Linked DNA regions of Homo sapiens: regions 1, 2, 4 and 5 are each linked to region 3. Evidence: promoter capture Hi-C in 16 types of primary human blood cells and fetal thymus (Javierre and others, 2016). All regions are on one chromosome and are shown on one strand. The core of a region is centred on a gene start or on the middle of the fragment in contact, and the rest is flanking DNA. Distances in the headings are between cores, read along the strand shown. Region 1 overlaps EVI5 (ecotropic viral integration site 5). Region 2 overlaps CDC7 (cell division cycle 7). Region 3 holds the start of BTBD8 (BTB domain containing 8). Region 4 overlaps EVI5 (ecotropic viral integration site 5). Region 5 overlaps LOC105378856 (a long non-coding RNA gene).

Region 1 (2,700 bases), core at 1-2,500, 570 kb before region 3:
TGTGTCTCCATGTTCATTTGTTTCAAAAAAGTTTTAGATTTCTATTTTAATTTTGTTGCTGACCCAAAGATGATTTGGGAGCAGGTGAATTTTTATGTATTTGTATAGTTTTGAGAGTTCTTCTTGGAATCAGTTTCTAGTTACATTCCACTGTGGTCCAAGAAGAGACTTGATATGATTTTGATTTTTGAAAATTTATTGAGACTTGTTTCATGGGCTAAAATATGGTCTGCCTTAGAGAACATTTCATGTGCTGATGAGAAGAATGTATATTCTGTGGTTGTTGAATAGAATGTCCTATAAATGTCTATTAGAGTCCAATTTATGTCCAGTATTTCTTTGTTGATTTCCTGTCTCAGTGATCTTTAATGCTGTCATTGGGGTGTTGAAGTCCTTCTCTATTATTGTTTTGCTGTCTCTTTTCTTAGATAGAGTAGTTTTTCTTTGGTTTTCTTTTCTTTTTCTTTTTATTTATTTTTGTTTCCAAGGCACTGTCTCAGGATGTCCTGAGAACATGTGCCCCAGTAGTAGTTGTCTTATGAATCTGGGTACCTCCTATATCGGGTACATATATATTTAGGATTGTTACATCTTCCCGTTGACTTTATCCCGTTATCATTTTAAAATGACCTTCCTTGTCTTTTTTCACTGTTGTTGATTTAAAGTCTGTTTTATCTGATACAAAGATAGCTACTCCTGCCTGCTTTTGGTTTCTGTTGGTGTGGGATATCATTTTCTACCCTTTTTCCTTCAGTCTGTATTAGGTGGGTTTCTTGTAAGCAGCATATTACTGGATCATCCTTTTTGTAAGACCTGTAAGTTTTATACTTTTGTCTGTTTTTATGATGTTGAGTATTGACCTTTTGTTTACATGTTTAGAACTCACTTGAACATTTCTTGTAAGGCTGGTCTAATGGTGATGAATTCTGTTAGCATTTGCTTGTCTGGGAAAGACTTTTTCTCCATTTATGAAGCTTGTTCTAGCAGGATAAAAAATTCATGGTTGACAGGTTTTTTTTTTTCTTTAATAAGTCTTAAAATGGGATTGTGATTTTTTTTCTGGCTTGTAAAGTTTCTGCCAGTATGTCCACTGTTAGTCTGAGGGGATTTCCTTTACTGATGATTAGACACCTTTCTCTTGCTGATTTTAGGATTTTTTTTTTTCCTTCATGTTGTCATTAGTCTGATGAGTATATGTGTTGGTGAAGTCCTTCTTGCACTGTATTTTCCTAGAGTTCTCTGAGCATCTTCTATTTGGATGTCTAAATCTCTAGCAAGAGTAGGGAGTTTTCCTCAATTACTTCCTCAGATAGGTTTTCCAAACTTTTTGCTTTTTCATCTCCCTCAGGAATACCTATGACTTGTAGGTTTAGACATTTTATATAACCCCTATACTTCTCAAAGGCTTTGTTCATTTTTGAAAATTATTTTTTCTTTATTTTCGTCTGACTGGACTAATTCAATAGACCTGTCTTTAAGCTCTGAGATTGTTTTTTCTGCTGGGTTTAGTCTACTGTTAAAGCTTTTACCTGTATTTTATAATTTCTTCAATGAATTTTTCATTTCCAGACTTGATTTTCAGATTTCTTGGTGTTGATTTTCATTCAGCTTTCTCTTAGATCTCATTGAGCTTCTTGGAAATCAGTATTTTTAATTCTTTATATGGTATTTCAGAGATTTCATTTTAGTTAGGATCTATTGCTAGAGATTTAGTGTGATCTTTTGAGAATGTCATAACACTGTCTTTATACTTCCAGAATTGTTTGGCTGTTTCCTTCTCATATGGAGAAACTTATCTTTTCTTCTTATTTTTGAATTTACTTTCATTTGGACAGGAATTTTTTTCCTCTGAAGGATATAACTACAATGTATGTTCTGGGTGCTTCCTTGGCAGAATGTATGAGTTCTTTGAATATAGATAGCCTTTGTGTGGTGGTTTTCTCAAATGCTAGTTGTAGTAGTAGTGTACTGGCTGTGTGAGTAGTATCACAGCTTCCTGCAGGGCTGGGATGGCGGAAGTCTCAAGAATCTTATCTCATTTCCCAGCACTGTGCACTTGTGTCAGCAGATTTTCTGTTGGGTTGTGCATTTCAGCCTCCAGGACAGTAGGTGGTGGTTGTGGGTAAGAGCCTGCTGCAACAGAAGCAGATGGACAGGTGCTTGATCTTTGTTTAATGGGGGAAGTTCTTTGTTGCTTCAGGCAATGGGCTGGGCTGTGGAATGTACAGTGGCTTGAGCTCTCTGCTCACCCCCTAGCAGGGGACAAGTCAGGGCAGAGATGGACAGCCAAGCCGGCCCTTGGATTCCCCAATGATGAGCACAAGCAGAAGACCTGAGTGGGGGTGGCAGGGAAGCTCCTGGTAAGTACACTGAGGTCTCTGCAGAGAGGCAGGGAGCCACCCCAGTTCCATAGCCCGGGCAGGCAGGAATGTAATCTCTCTCCCTGTCATGCCCCTGTCCCCAAACTCAGAACACTCAAATTGGTCAGACACCACTGTCTATCTCCAGGCTGCAATGTACCTGAGAGCCATAAAAGATGACTGCCCCTTGGCTTGCTGCCAGAATGTCTTTGTTTTGGAGTCTTCTTCCTCAGTCCAAAACACACAGCTTTTTGGCTCTCCTCTCCCTTGCAGGAACGCTGCTGCTCTGCATGGAGAGGGGGAGGGGGTCCCACCTTTTGCACAAGCTTAGATATGGTGG
Region 2 (2,700 bases), core at 17-2,516, 570 kb after region 3:
TAATAAATGTTAATCTAGTTATTACCTAAATTCTCTTCAGTGTATGACTGACTGACCATTATGCTATTAAGCTACATTACTTACTTTCACTGCAGGGCTCTCATGTGAAATGGAGCTGTGTATATTGAAATTTCTTTCTCCAAAAACAGAGCGCTGGACAGAAAGGCCTACAGATCCCTCCTACAATACCAACAAAAACAAGGAAAATAAGGATTATATCTGTAACACTTTCTGCCAGCTGTACTCTGCCATAGTTTTGAAAGAGTTAAGTGAGATGAAACAAAAACAGCTGCATCCAAGTCATTCTCAGGCACCAAACCACTTCTGTGAAAGGAGAAAATAGTCTAGACAGAACTCAACACCCATACAATGTTATCATAGTCCACAAATATATATAACTAAAAAAAAATTCAAAAACCACCTGCATGGATGTTACATTTTGCTGTGCAGCTAAAATGGAGATAGACACTTCAGAATTCCTCCCCTATAACTAATGCTTTCTTTTAAAAAGGATAATTAATCTGAACTTTTTAACATGCAGGGAAAATTTAATATTTTCCATTTTTGTCATAAAATATGATTTCATAATAGTTAATGACAGATGTTATAAACTGACAAAGTAAATTTTAGTTTTAAAATAGTAACCAAAATGATTCAGTACAAATCTTAGTGAAAATTTAATCAAATGAATACATATAACAAATGCAAAAAAAAGTTTTTTAAATTATAAGTACTATCCTAGTATTCTATCTCCCTCTGTTGGTTGAAGGAGTATATTTCTAAAACAGTGTCGGTACTTAAGAAATAAAAGAGATAGAACCTTTCCGTCTTTTCCTTGTTTAATCTGAATTTGTGCATTTGTGTAGGGTCTTTTAACAGAAGCTTTTGTGGTGGACTGCTGATCCAGCTCCTTAGGTACTGGGCCACTCAGTGGAATCTTGTTTCCTGTGATTATGTGGGATTTGTTTTGTGAACACCTTTCCTGCTGAGCTTCAGACTGGACAAATTTAAGAAGCTCTATTTTCGTATCATGGGTTCCTTGGGCCAAACCAAAGTCTACCAAGGCATACCTAAGAGACAAAATTAAGCATTTTTACTTATCTGTAGCAATTAAAGCTTAGTAACATTGTAATACTCTCAAACCATCCTCATAAAAACTGTAATTCTTTTTGGGATCAATTAGGAATTTATAACATTCTGGAAAAAAGAAAAAAAAATAAGTTTTCCAGACAAAGTAAGAATTTAACAGCTAACCAGGATTGAAAATTAAGAGTTGTCCCACAATCAAATTTTCTTTTTCCAGTGGTCTGTGTTAATAAGGCAGAAGAGGAATACATAACATAAACACAGTCCGTTGTTCTCTGATGGTGGCAGAGATGGCATCATAGCAGATAATTTCTAGTTAAGAAAGCTTAAAAAAATTAAAATCATGGTTTTAAAATCTGATCCAATTAAAGAAAATTAAAAAGTCAGGCATATAAAAGCTCAAAAAAGAAGTTATAATATTATTATGTTTAATATGATCCATTATATAGAGGTATTTATGTTATTTTTAGCTTATAATTTCTCTATAATTATAATCAGCATTAAAAAGTATACATAAAAATAAAACTTTTGTGTTAAAACAGGAAATTGGCTATCATGTGGTCCAATCCCCTCACTTACTAGAAAAGAAAAATGAAGTCCAGAGATAAGAGACATGTCTAAGGTCAAAAATTATTAGACTCTAAGTCTGTTAGTTCATGCTATTTCCACTGAACCATAGTACATCTAATAATGTACATTATTCCACTAATACAATTTTATCTTCTTCATCACCAAATTTCCCTTTCCAATCACAAAGAAACTGAAACAGAAATAATCTGTGCATGGCTATTGCAGTATGTTATATTATATCTAAGAGATATAAGTCAGAGGATACAAAGTAGCAGATATGTAGGATAAATAAATCTAGACCTAATGCACACTCTGAAGATTACAGGTAATAAAACTGTACTGTATATGAGATTCATACTAAATGAGTAAATTTTAGCTGCTCTTGCCGTAAAAACAAAAATAAGATGGGTAACTGAGATAAATATTTGCTTCACAATAGTAACTTTTGTACTATATATAACATCATGTTCAATACCTTAAATATAGACAATAAAATTGTTTTTTAAAAGAAATAGGATAAATATTTTCTAGTAACTCTTCATACTTACTTTTTCAGGCGCCTATTATATAAAAAATTGCTGGGCTTAACATCACGGTGAACAATACCAAACTGATGAATGCGTTTCAAAGCTTTGAACAGATTAAGCATATATTCCCGTACTTCTTGAAAGGAAAGAGAATTCAGAATGTCCTAAAACAAAGTTACAAATGAAATGAGTTACAAATATTGTTTGCAATTAAATATTTAGCTAATAAAAATTCAAGAAATATTAAAACCTACCAAAAACGACTCATGCTCCAGATATGGCATAGCAATAACTACATGATCATTCTTCCTAAAGCAGTATTTAACTCCCATGACATTATCTTGCCCCCTAGTGGAAAAATGCACAAGGAACTTTTAGAAGAAAGGTCAGAGGGACTGAAACTTTATGCCTAATTTTAAAAACCGCAATTTTAGCAATGCATACATATTGCTAGAAAACTGACTTAAATCATCATCACATAATATAAACACAAGTGACTTGTGTTCTCGTGTTAAAG
Region 3 (2,700 bases), core at 103-2,602:
GAGGTTGAGGCAGGAGAATGGCTTGAACCCGGGAGGTGGAGGTTGCAGTGAGCCGAGATCGCGCCACGGCGCTCCAGCCTGGGCGACAGAGCGAGACTCCGTCTCCAAAAAAAAAAAAGTAGAATGCTGCACAACTTTTAATTATTAGTAATTATGTTTACCTCAGTGGTTCTCATAGTCACCCTAGCCAGCAGCATTAGCATCACTTGGGGCCTTGTTAGAAATGGAAAATTTCAGTGATGCCCACCCAAGTTTAAGAATCAATGTCTTGCTGGAAATGTAAATTAGCTAGGTCATATTTCTAAGCTTCAATTTCTTTGTAAGCTGAAATTACTTTAGCTGGATTCCCAATAACCCGAGAAGGATATCCATGAGGCTTACAAAGGTTAAATGTCAGGAAGACCCTCCATTTGCTTTGGTCCTCACAGGAGCTGAGAGTTGCTGGGAGCTACAGAGAGCTCTAGGTGGAGAGAGGAATCCAGGTCGCAATCAGGAAGCATTTCTGGTAAATTGTTTAAAGAGACCTCAGAAGAGACCTCCAAGACTATAGTATTGTTCTTTCCTCATTTCAAATAATCGTTTTCCTAATTTTATTATTTTTCTTAAAATAGTATAAGCTTATTTTAAAAATTGTGTAAGTTTCAGGACCTGGATCCACCCGACCTTAGTGATTGGAAACAACTAAGCGTGCCTGTGTTGAGATATTTCTAGCAAACTAGTGCTGCACACGACTAAGCTTTTTTTGTTTTCCTTTTGAATCTGGTACATGGTGTCGAGGTGCTCGGGATTGTTTATTCAGGGCGAGCGAAGCCACTTTTCGGAATAGTGGGGAGACTGGCTAACGACCCGCAGTCGCCTGAGGCGAGGAGAACCAAGTGCTGAGGGAGGGGGAGGCAGAGCCGAAAGAAGCCTCAGCTTCGGGGCGGAGGTGGGCGATTTAGGAACTGAAGCAGCCAGAGTTCCCGCCTCCTCCTACCTGAGCAAATCCTGGCTGAGCTGCTCCGACACCGTCGCCTTCAGCCGGCGCCGCTCACACGGCCCCTTCCTTTGCAACCCCTTACTGCAAACTCCAGCGGACCCCAGAAGTACCATGGGGGCCGCACTGCCTTCCCCACAGCGAGCCATGTCTCACAGAGGTACGACGCCCTGGAGGCCCAGTACTTGGCCTCACTTGCCCCGCCCAGGAGGAAGAAGGGGGCGTTTCCGACCGAACGCTCGGCTCCTACCCAAATCCGCCCCCTAGGGTAAAAGGTTGACGCCTCTCGTCGGTTTGTAGACAGTCTCCCAGAGAAGCCGGACCGCGGTGGGGAGCCTCAGAATCCCAGAACCGAGCCGGCTCTTGACCCAGGAAGAGCGTGCGCAGGCGTACTCGCTCTGTTTACTTCTGCCGGCGGGCACCCCGCCTCCCATGGCTCAGGCGCGGACCATCCCGCGGGGCAAACCAATCCTCAGGCTCCTTATCCCCTCCCCTCTTCTTTCCCTTCCGGTTGGTGTTCATTCATTTCAATGTTTTACTGAGGCTCGAGTTCAAATCAGCACATGCAGCCTTTCTATGCTGTGTCTTCCTGACAGGTCTACACTTTTTTCCAACGAAAGACTGGGCGAGTCACACCCCCTCACTTACCTGGCTTCTTAACCCTGAGGTATAAATGTTTGGGGCAAGAAAAATTGGCGATGGGAGGAGTAGGGGAAGAACTTCATAAACTGCCAGTCAGAACAATTCTGAGTTCAATATAAGAGATACTTACAGCATCTAGAAGGCCCCATCCCCTTCTTATCCAAGGAGTGGCTCATACAAGCTTTTGGACTTGATCGGAGAAAGCACAGGGCTTTGCATATAAAGCCCTAACATTTATGACCAAGAAGGGAGAAATAGGTAAGGGGCAAAGTCTTTGAGCAGTGAAGTGATGGATGGATGAAATATAGAATTCTCTTTTGTCCCAAATAAAGTAGCAAACTGATTATCATTTAAGGTTTTGGTATTTTTTATTTGATTACTGCCTCCAAAATAAGGAAACTCAGTAGTTCCGCTTCGGGCCGGGCAAGTCCCATCTACTTGGGAAGCGAGGCGGAATGATGGCTTGAGCCCGGGAGGTCGAGGCTGCAGTGAGCCATGATTGCACCACTGCACTCCAGCCTGAACAGCACAGCAAGACCCTGTCTCAAAAAAAAAAAAAAAAAAAAAAATCTGTTTCATTCACAAACTCTACACACAAGGTGAAGAATAGTAATTGCTTGGAAAATACATTGGCCAGGTTGCGGTGGCTCACACCTGTAATCCCAGCACTTTGGGAAGCCAAGGCGGGAGGATCACTTGAGCCCAGGAATTAGAGACCAGCCTGGGCAACATAAGGAGACCCTGTCTCTACCAAACAAAAAAAAAAAAAAAGGAGGCGGGGAGGGGAATATATGGACTTTGTATTTGTACCATAAGATTGGCCAAGAGGTAACCATTTCTTCAGATAATGCCCCCTCTCAAATATTCAGACATCTTAATTCTGAAAAATATAACTGGATAATTGATTTTTTAAAATTAATTCCCAAATGCTTGGATGGATAATTGATTCTTAATTATTCCTGTAGAAACGAGGGGTGTCAAAGATAACATAATAGTAGCTTATATTTGAATCCTTATTATGTGATAAACGCTACTCTATTTGCTCTGTGTGTTTTAACTCAGTTAATCCTTACAACAACCAT
Region 4 (2,729 bases), core at 171-2,670, 520 kb before region 3:
TTGTTGTTTTGCTATACTAATATTGCTATTTTAGAGTCTAATTCTACTTATACAAAACAAGAGTTAACTCTAAGACAGTCTCAGATCCTTCAGGAGGTTTTCCAGAAGGCATTGTTTTCATAGGAGATGACAGCTTCATGTGTGTTATTGTCCCTGAAGACCTTCCAGTGGGACAAGATGTGGAGGTTGAAGATAGTGATATTGGTGGTGCTGACCCTGTGTAGGCCTAAGCTAATATCTTAGTTTTTAACACAAATGTTTTAATTTTTTTTTTTTTTGAGGCAGGATCTCACTCTGTTGCCCAGACCGGAGTTTAGTGGCACAGTCATAGCTCACTGCAGACTCCAACTCCTGGCTCAAGCAGTCCTCATCAGCTTCCCGAGTACCTGGGACTACAGGCACACATGACCACACCCAGCTTATTTATTTATTTATTTATTTATTTAGTAGCAATGAGGTCTCCCTTTGCTGGCCAGGCTGGTTTCGAACTCCTGGGCTTAAGTGATCCGCCCACCTCTGCCTTCCACAGTGCTGGGATTACAAGCATGAGCCACTGCGCCCAGCCTTAATTTTTTTTTAACTTAAAAAATTTTTTGTTCATCAGGTGTAATGACTCATGCCTGTAATCTCAGCACTTTGGGAGGCTGAGGCAGGCAGATCTTGAGCCCAAGAGTTTGAAACCAACCTGACAAACAAAGTGAGACTCCCTCTCTACAAAAAATACAAAATAAAATTAGTTGGACCTGGTGGTGCACCTATAGTCCCAGTCGCGGTTACTTAGGAGGCTGAGGTGGGTGGGTTGCCTGAGCCTGGGAGGTCAAGGCTGCAGTAAGCCATGATCACAGCACTGCACTCCAGCCTGGGCCACAGAGTAAGACCCTGTTTCAAAAAATATATTTATTAAAAATTAAAATTAAAAATAGAAAAAAGCTTATAGAATAAAGATATAAAAAAAATTTTATACACCTGTACAATGTTTGCTAAGCTAAATGTTATAAAAGAGTCAAAAAGTTTAAAAAATTGGAAGTTTATAAATAAACTTACAGTAAGTTAATTTATTATTGAAAGAAAAACCATTTTTTATAATGTTATAGTATATTTACAAATTTTCTTCATTTTTAAAGCTGAATAATATTCCATTGTATGTATATACCACATTTTTTATCTGTTCATTCATTGATGGACATTTAGGGTGCTTCCATGTTTGAGCTATTGTGAATAATGCTGCTATGAATACAGGTGTACAAATTTCTGTTCAGGTCCCTGCTTTAACTTCTTTTGAGTACGTAGAAGTGGAATTGCTGGATCATATAGTAATTGTTTAATTTTTTTAAGAAATTGCCATACCATTTTCCACAGAACCTACACCATTTTACATTTCTACCAGCAATGCATGAGGATTTCATTTTTTCCGCATTTGCACCAACACTTGTTAATTTTCTGTTGTTGTTTTTATAAGTACCATCCTAATGGGTGTGAAGTGGTATCTCATTGTGGTTTTGATTTGCATTTCCCTAATGATGAGCTATGTTGGGCATACTTTCATGTGCTTATTTCGCATTTATATATCTTCTTTGGAGAAATGGCTATTCAGGTCCTTTGCTTAATTGAACCAGGTTGTTTGTTGTTTTTGTTGTTGAGTTATAGGAGTTATTTATATATTCTCAGTATCACTTTCTTATCATATATATGGTTTGCAAATATTTTCTCCCATTATGTTTGTTGCCTTTTCTTTGTTGATAGTGTTTTTATCACAAAAGTTTTTAATTTTGCTGAATCAACGTACCTGGGTTTTGTTTTGTTTTGTTTTTTTTGGTGGTGTTGACTGTGCTCCAAGTCCATTTTTTAGTGAAAATTTATCATATTTCTATATTATCAAAACTATCTTCAAAAGAAAATTCAAAGCTTTAAAAATAAATATGTTTTTACAGGGCACAGTAACTCATGCCTGTAATCCCAGTGCTTTGAGAGGCCAAGGTCAGGGGATTGCTGGAGGCCAGGAGTTCAAGACCGGCCTGGGCAATAGAATAAGACCCTGTCTCTACAAAACAATTTTTAAAAATTAGCTGAGGGCATGATAGTACACTCCTGTAGCTCTGGCTACTTGGAAGGCTAAGGTGGAATGATCCCTTGAGGCCAGAAGTAGGAGTTCCATATTACAAGGAGCTATGATCAAGCCACTGCACTCCAATCTGAGTGACAGAATGAGACCTTGTCTCAAAAAAAAATTTTTTTAATAAAAATAAATGTGTTTTGTCACTTCTTATGCCTTACTTCTTGTATAATATGATAAAAGTAGTAAGTTTTCCCTATGGACAAAATACTATGTTTAAAATCTTATGTCTTTCAAAGTCTTTAATTATATTGTACTCCAAGTCACAATAGTCTTTGCTGTAACATCTAGAATTTTCTTCCCACCTGAAATTTCCTTTTGTCTTTAAATTTCAATTTCAAATGTAATTAATTTCCAAACTTACATATTATATTATAACTTCATTTTTTGATCTGGATCAAAAGTAACCACAACACATTATGATTTGTATGTTTATAAAAAGGTATCCTTTATGTTCTGCTGGTAGTAGTCCCCATAAAGTGCACATATTCAGAAAAACCTCAGACATGAGCCAACTGCATAATATATTTGTAATCAGTTGTTTAAATCATGCTATCGTATGTGATTTTAGCATTAGTCTGTACTTTTCTAAACATCAAGAAAATCCTAAGAATTT
Region 5 (2,700 bases), core at 30-2,529, 590 kb after region 3:
TAATAACCAGGTCAGTGATTCTAACAAGTGGATCATAGGAACAAATTAGCCAATGAAAATACATCCCTTTCTCTCTGATGTAGCTTTTTGGAGGAGGTGGATTAGTGAGCAGTGGGTCCCTGTTGGATGAGGGGTTAGGGAAGGGATGGCCTGAGCTCTAAACATAGGAAGGGCTTCCATGCATATCCTACATGTCTGGATGATGGATTGAGACTTGACTCTGCCATTTTTTGGCTTCCTCCTGAAGATGATAGTCAGTAGCAGTCAAAGTCATGGTTCAAGAAGGGTCACTAACATAGCACTTTCCTCTAGACACACCTCTCCTTAGAAAAACACCCAAAACAGAGTATTCTTCTTTGGAGTCAACAGTGGGAGAGTATGAACAAATAGAATAGATACTCCCTGCACACAAGGTATGGGCTCACAACAAGAGCTAGCCAGCTGGTGACAGCACTTTCTCTGTGGCCCACTGCTCCTCTAAAATAGGCCTGTTTCTGTATAAGAACCTGGTGAATTATTGAGAGGGAATTGGGATAAGTTGTTCTGCCCTCCACCCCTTTCCTCAGGGTACAGCTGGAATTGAGGTAAGTACATAATATCTAAGTTTAGGCCTATATTAGAATAATGAGGGAAATGGACACTTTGGGCCACTTAATGAGGTAAATGGACATTGAATGAGGTAAAAGAACATAGTACTGGCATTGAGGGACATAAATTCTAGCAACCAAACTGGGAGACTTCTCTCTCATCCAAGCATCCCAAACAAAAATGAGAAAAGTTCAATAGCAGTGCTATAAGGGAAAACCTCCGCAATTCCTTCTTGATCCCATTTGATATATATTTGAATTATTGACATAATGAATGTAAGGGAAGGGGATGCATTTGATGCACACTGTCATAGGCACTGAGTTGGGCACTGTAGTAAGATCTTTTTATGTGTTATCTTATTAATTCTTTAATTATTGGACTTATTTTATAGATCAGAAATATTAGCTTTAGAAAAGACTGGCCAGGCGCAGTGGCTCACTCCTGTAATCCCAGCACTTTTGGGAGGCTGAGGTGGGTGGACTGCATGAGCCTAGGAGTTTGAGACCAGCCTGGGTAACAGGGCGAAACCTCATCTCTAGTAAAAATACAAAAATTAGCCAGGCATGGTGGTGCACACCTCCAGTCCCAGCTACTTGGGAGGTGAAGGTGGGAGGATCACCTGAGCCTGAGAGGTCGAGGCTACAGTGAGCTGAGATCATCAGGCTGCTGCACTCCAGCCTGGGAGGCAGAGCAATCCTGTCTTAAAAAAAAAAAGATTAAGTAAATACCGATGACAACAAGCCAGTAAGTGGCAGAGCTGAAATTGGAATCTAGGATTCTTTGAACACAAAGGTCTTCATTTGGATTAGACCTCAACTATATATTTTTTCCTTTTTATTGTGGTAAAATACACATAACATACAGTTTACCATCTTAACCATCATTAAGCATACTACAGTTCAGTGGTATTAATACATTTACGTAGTTGTGCAACCATCACCACCATCCATCTCCAGATCCCTTTTCACCTGGTAAAACTGAAACTCTACACCCATTGAACAATAACTTCATTCCCTAGTCCCCCAGACCCTGGCAACTACCATTCTACTTTCTGTTTCTATGAATTTGACTACTCTAAGTAACTCTGGCAGAATCATACAGATTTGTCATTTTGTGGCAAGCGCATTTCACTTAGCATAATGTCCTCAAGGTTCATCTGTGTTGTAGCATATGTCAGAATTTCCTTCCTGTTTAAGACTACATAATATTCCATTGTATGTAGATGCATCGTGTGCATCTACAACCTCTGTATCTGTGGATTTCACATCTGTGGGTTCAACCAACTGAGATTGAAAATATTCAGGGGGAACTATAGATGTTTGCATCTGGACTGAACATATACAGATGTTTTTTCTTGCCATAATTCCCTAAACAATACAGTATAACAACTATTTACATATCATTTACATTGTATTAGGTATTATAAGTAATCTAGAATGATTTAAAATATATGGGAGGATTGGATAGATTATGTGAAAATACTACACCATTTTATATAAGGGACTTGAGGATCTGTGAATTTTGGTATCTGTGAGGGGTCTGGTAACCAATCCCCCATGGATACCAAGGGATGACTGTATCACATTTTGCTTATCCATTCATCTGTCATGAACAGTTGGGTTGCTTCCATGTTTTAGCTATTGTGAATAATGCTGCTATAAACATTGGTATACATGGGAGACCCTTTTGATTCTTTTGAGTATGTACCTAGCGGTGGAATTGCTAGATCATATGGTAATTCTATTTTTAGCTTTTGATGAACTACCATACTGTTTTCCACAGCAGCTGCACCATTTTACATTTCTACCAACAGTGCACAGAGTTCTAATTTCCCCATATTTTTGCCAACACTTTTTTTTTTTAATGGTGGCCATCCTAATGGATGTGAGGTGGAATCTCACTGTGGTTATGACTTGCATTTCCCAAGTAATTTTTGATGTTGAGCATCTTTTCATGTGTTTGTGACCATTTGTATATCTTCTATGGAGAAAAGTATATTAAAGGCTTTTTCCAATTTTTTGAATTTTTTTAATTGTTGAATTTTAGGAGTTCTTTTATATTCAGGGTATTAATCCCTTATCAGATGTATAACTTGACAATATTTTCTCCCAT

Evidence for each region. The method cuts DNA at HindIII sites, captures the fragments that hold promoters and counts their contacts. A CHiCAGO score of 5 or more calls a contact.
Region 1: a contact is called between a fragment that was not itself captured here and the fragment with the promoter of BTBD8 in region 3, in 1 of 17 cell types (erythroblasts). The highest score is 6.0, in erythroblasts.
Region 2: a fragment that was not itself captured here is called in contact with the fragment with the promoter of BTBD8 in region 3 in 1 of 17 cell types (total CD8 T cells); the score reaches 5.1 in total CD8 T cells.
Region 4: a fragment that was not itself captured here is called in contact with the fragment with the promoter of BTBD8 in region 3 in 1 of 17 cell types (naive CD4 T cells); the score reaches 6.8 in naive CD4 T cells.
Region 5: a contact is called between a fragment that was not itself captured here and the fragment with the promoter of BTBD8 in region 3, in 1 of 17 cell types (non-activated CD4 T cells). The highest score is 5.2, in non-activated CD4 T cells.

What each region holds. Positions count from the first base shown.
Region 1 is chr1:92,653,663-92,656,362 of GRCh38, reverse strand. The region is part of intron 13 of EVI5 (ecotropic viral integration site 5); the gene reads left to right. Among named protein-coding and RNA genes, the nearest start is that of EVI5, 130 kb to the left of the region's middle. The HindIII fragment of the contact is 548 bases long and covers 977-1,524 here.
Region 2 is chr1:91,511,428-91,514,127 of GRCh38, reverse strand. CDC7 (cell division cycle 7) reads right to left here. Exons shown (of 12, transcript NM_003503.4): 5 at 2,438-2,531; 6 at 2,205-2,347; 7 at 821-1,070; 8 at 85-180. Among named protein-coding and RNA genes, the nearest start is that of CDC7, 12 kb to the right of the region's middle. The HindIII fragment of the contact is 295 bases long and covers 1,119-1,413 here.
Region 3 is chr1:92,078,997-92,081,696 of GRCh38, reverse strand. BTBD8 (BTB domain containing 8) reads right to left here and starts at 1,352. Exons shown (of 18, transcript NM_001376131.1): 1 at 977-1,352. The coding sequence starts at 1,125. RefSeq lists an enhancer at 1-79. The HindIII fragment of the contact is 1,063 bases long and covers 739-1,801 here.
Region 4 is chr1:92,601,904-92,604,632 of GRCh38, reverse strand. All of the region lies in intron 18 of EVI5 (ecotropic viral integration site 5), which reads left to right. Among named protein-coding and RNA genes, the nearest start is that of GFI1, 120 kb to the right of the region's middle. The HindIII fragment of the contact is 975 bases long and covers 933-1,907 here.
Region 5 is chr1:91,492,089-91,494,788 of GRCh38, reverse strand. The region is part of intron 1 of LOC105378856 (a long non-coding RNA gene); the gene reads left to right. Among named protein-coding and RNA genes, the nearest start is that of CDC7, 7.4 kb to the left of the region's middle. The HindIII fragment of the contact is 3,032 bases long and covers 1-2,700 here.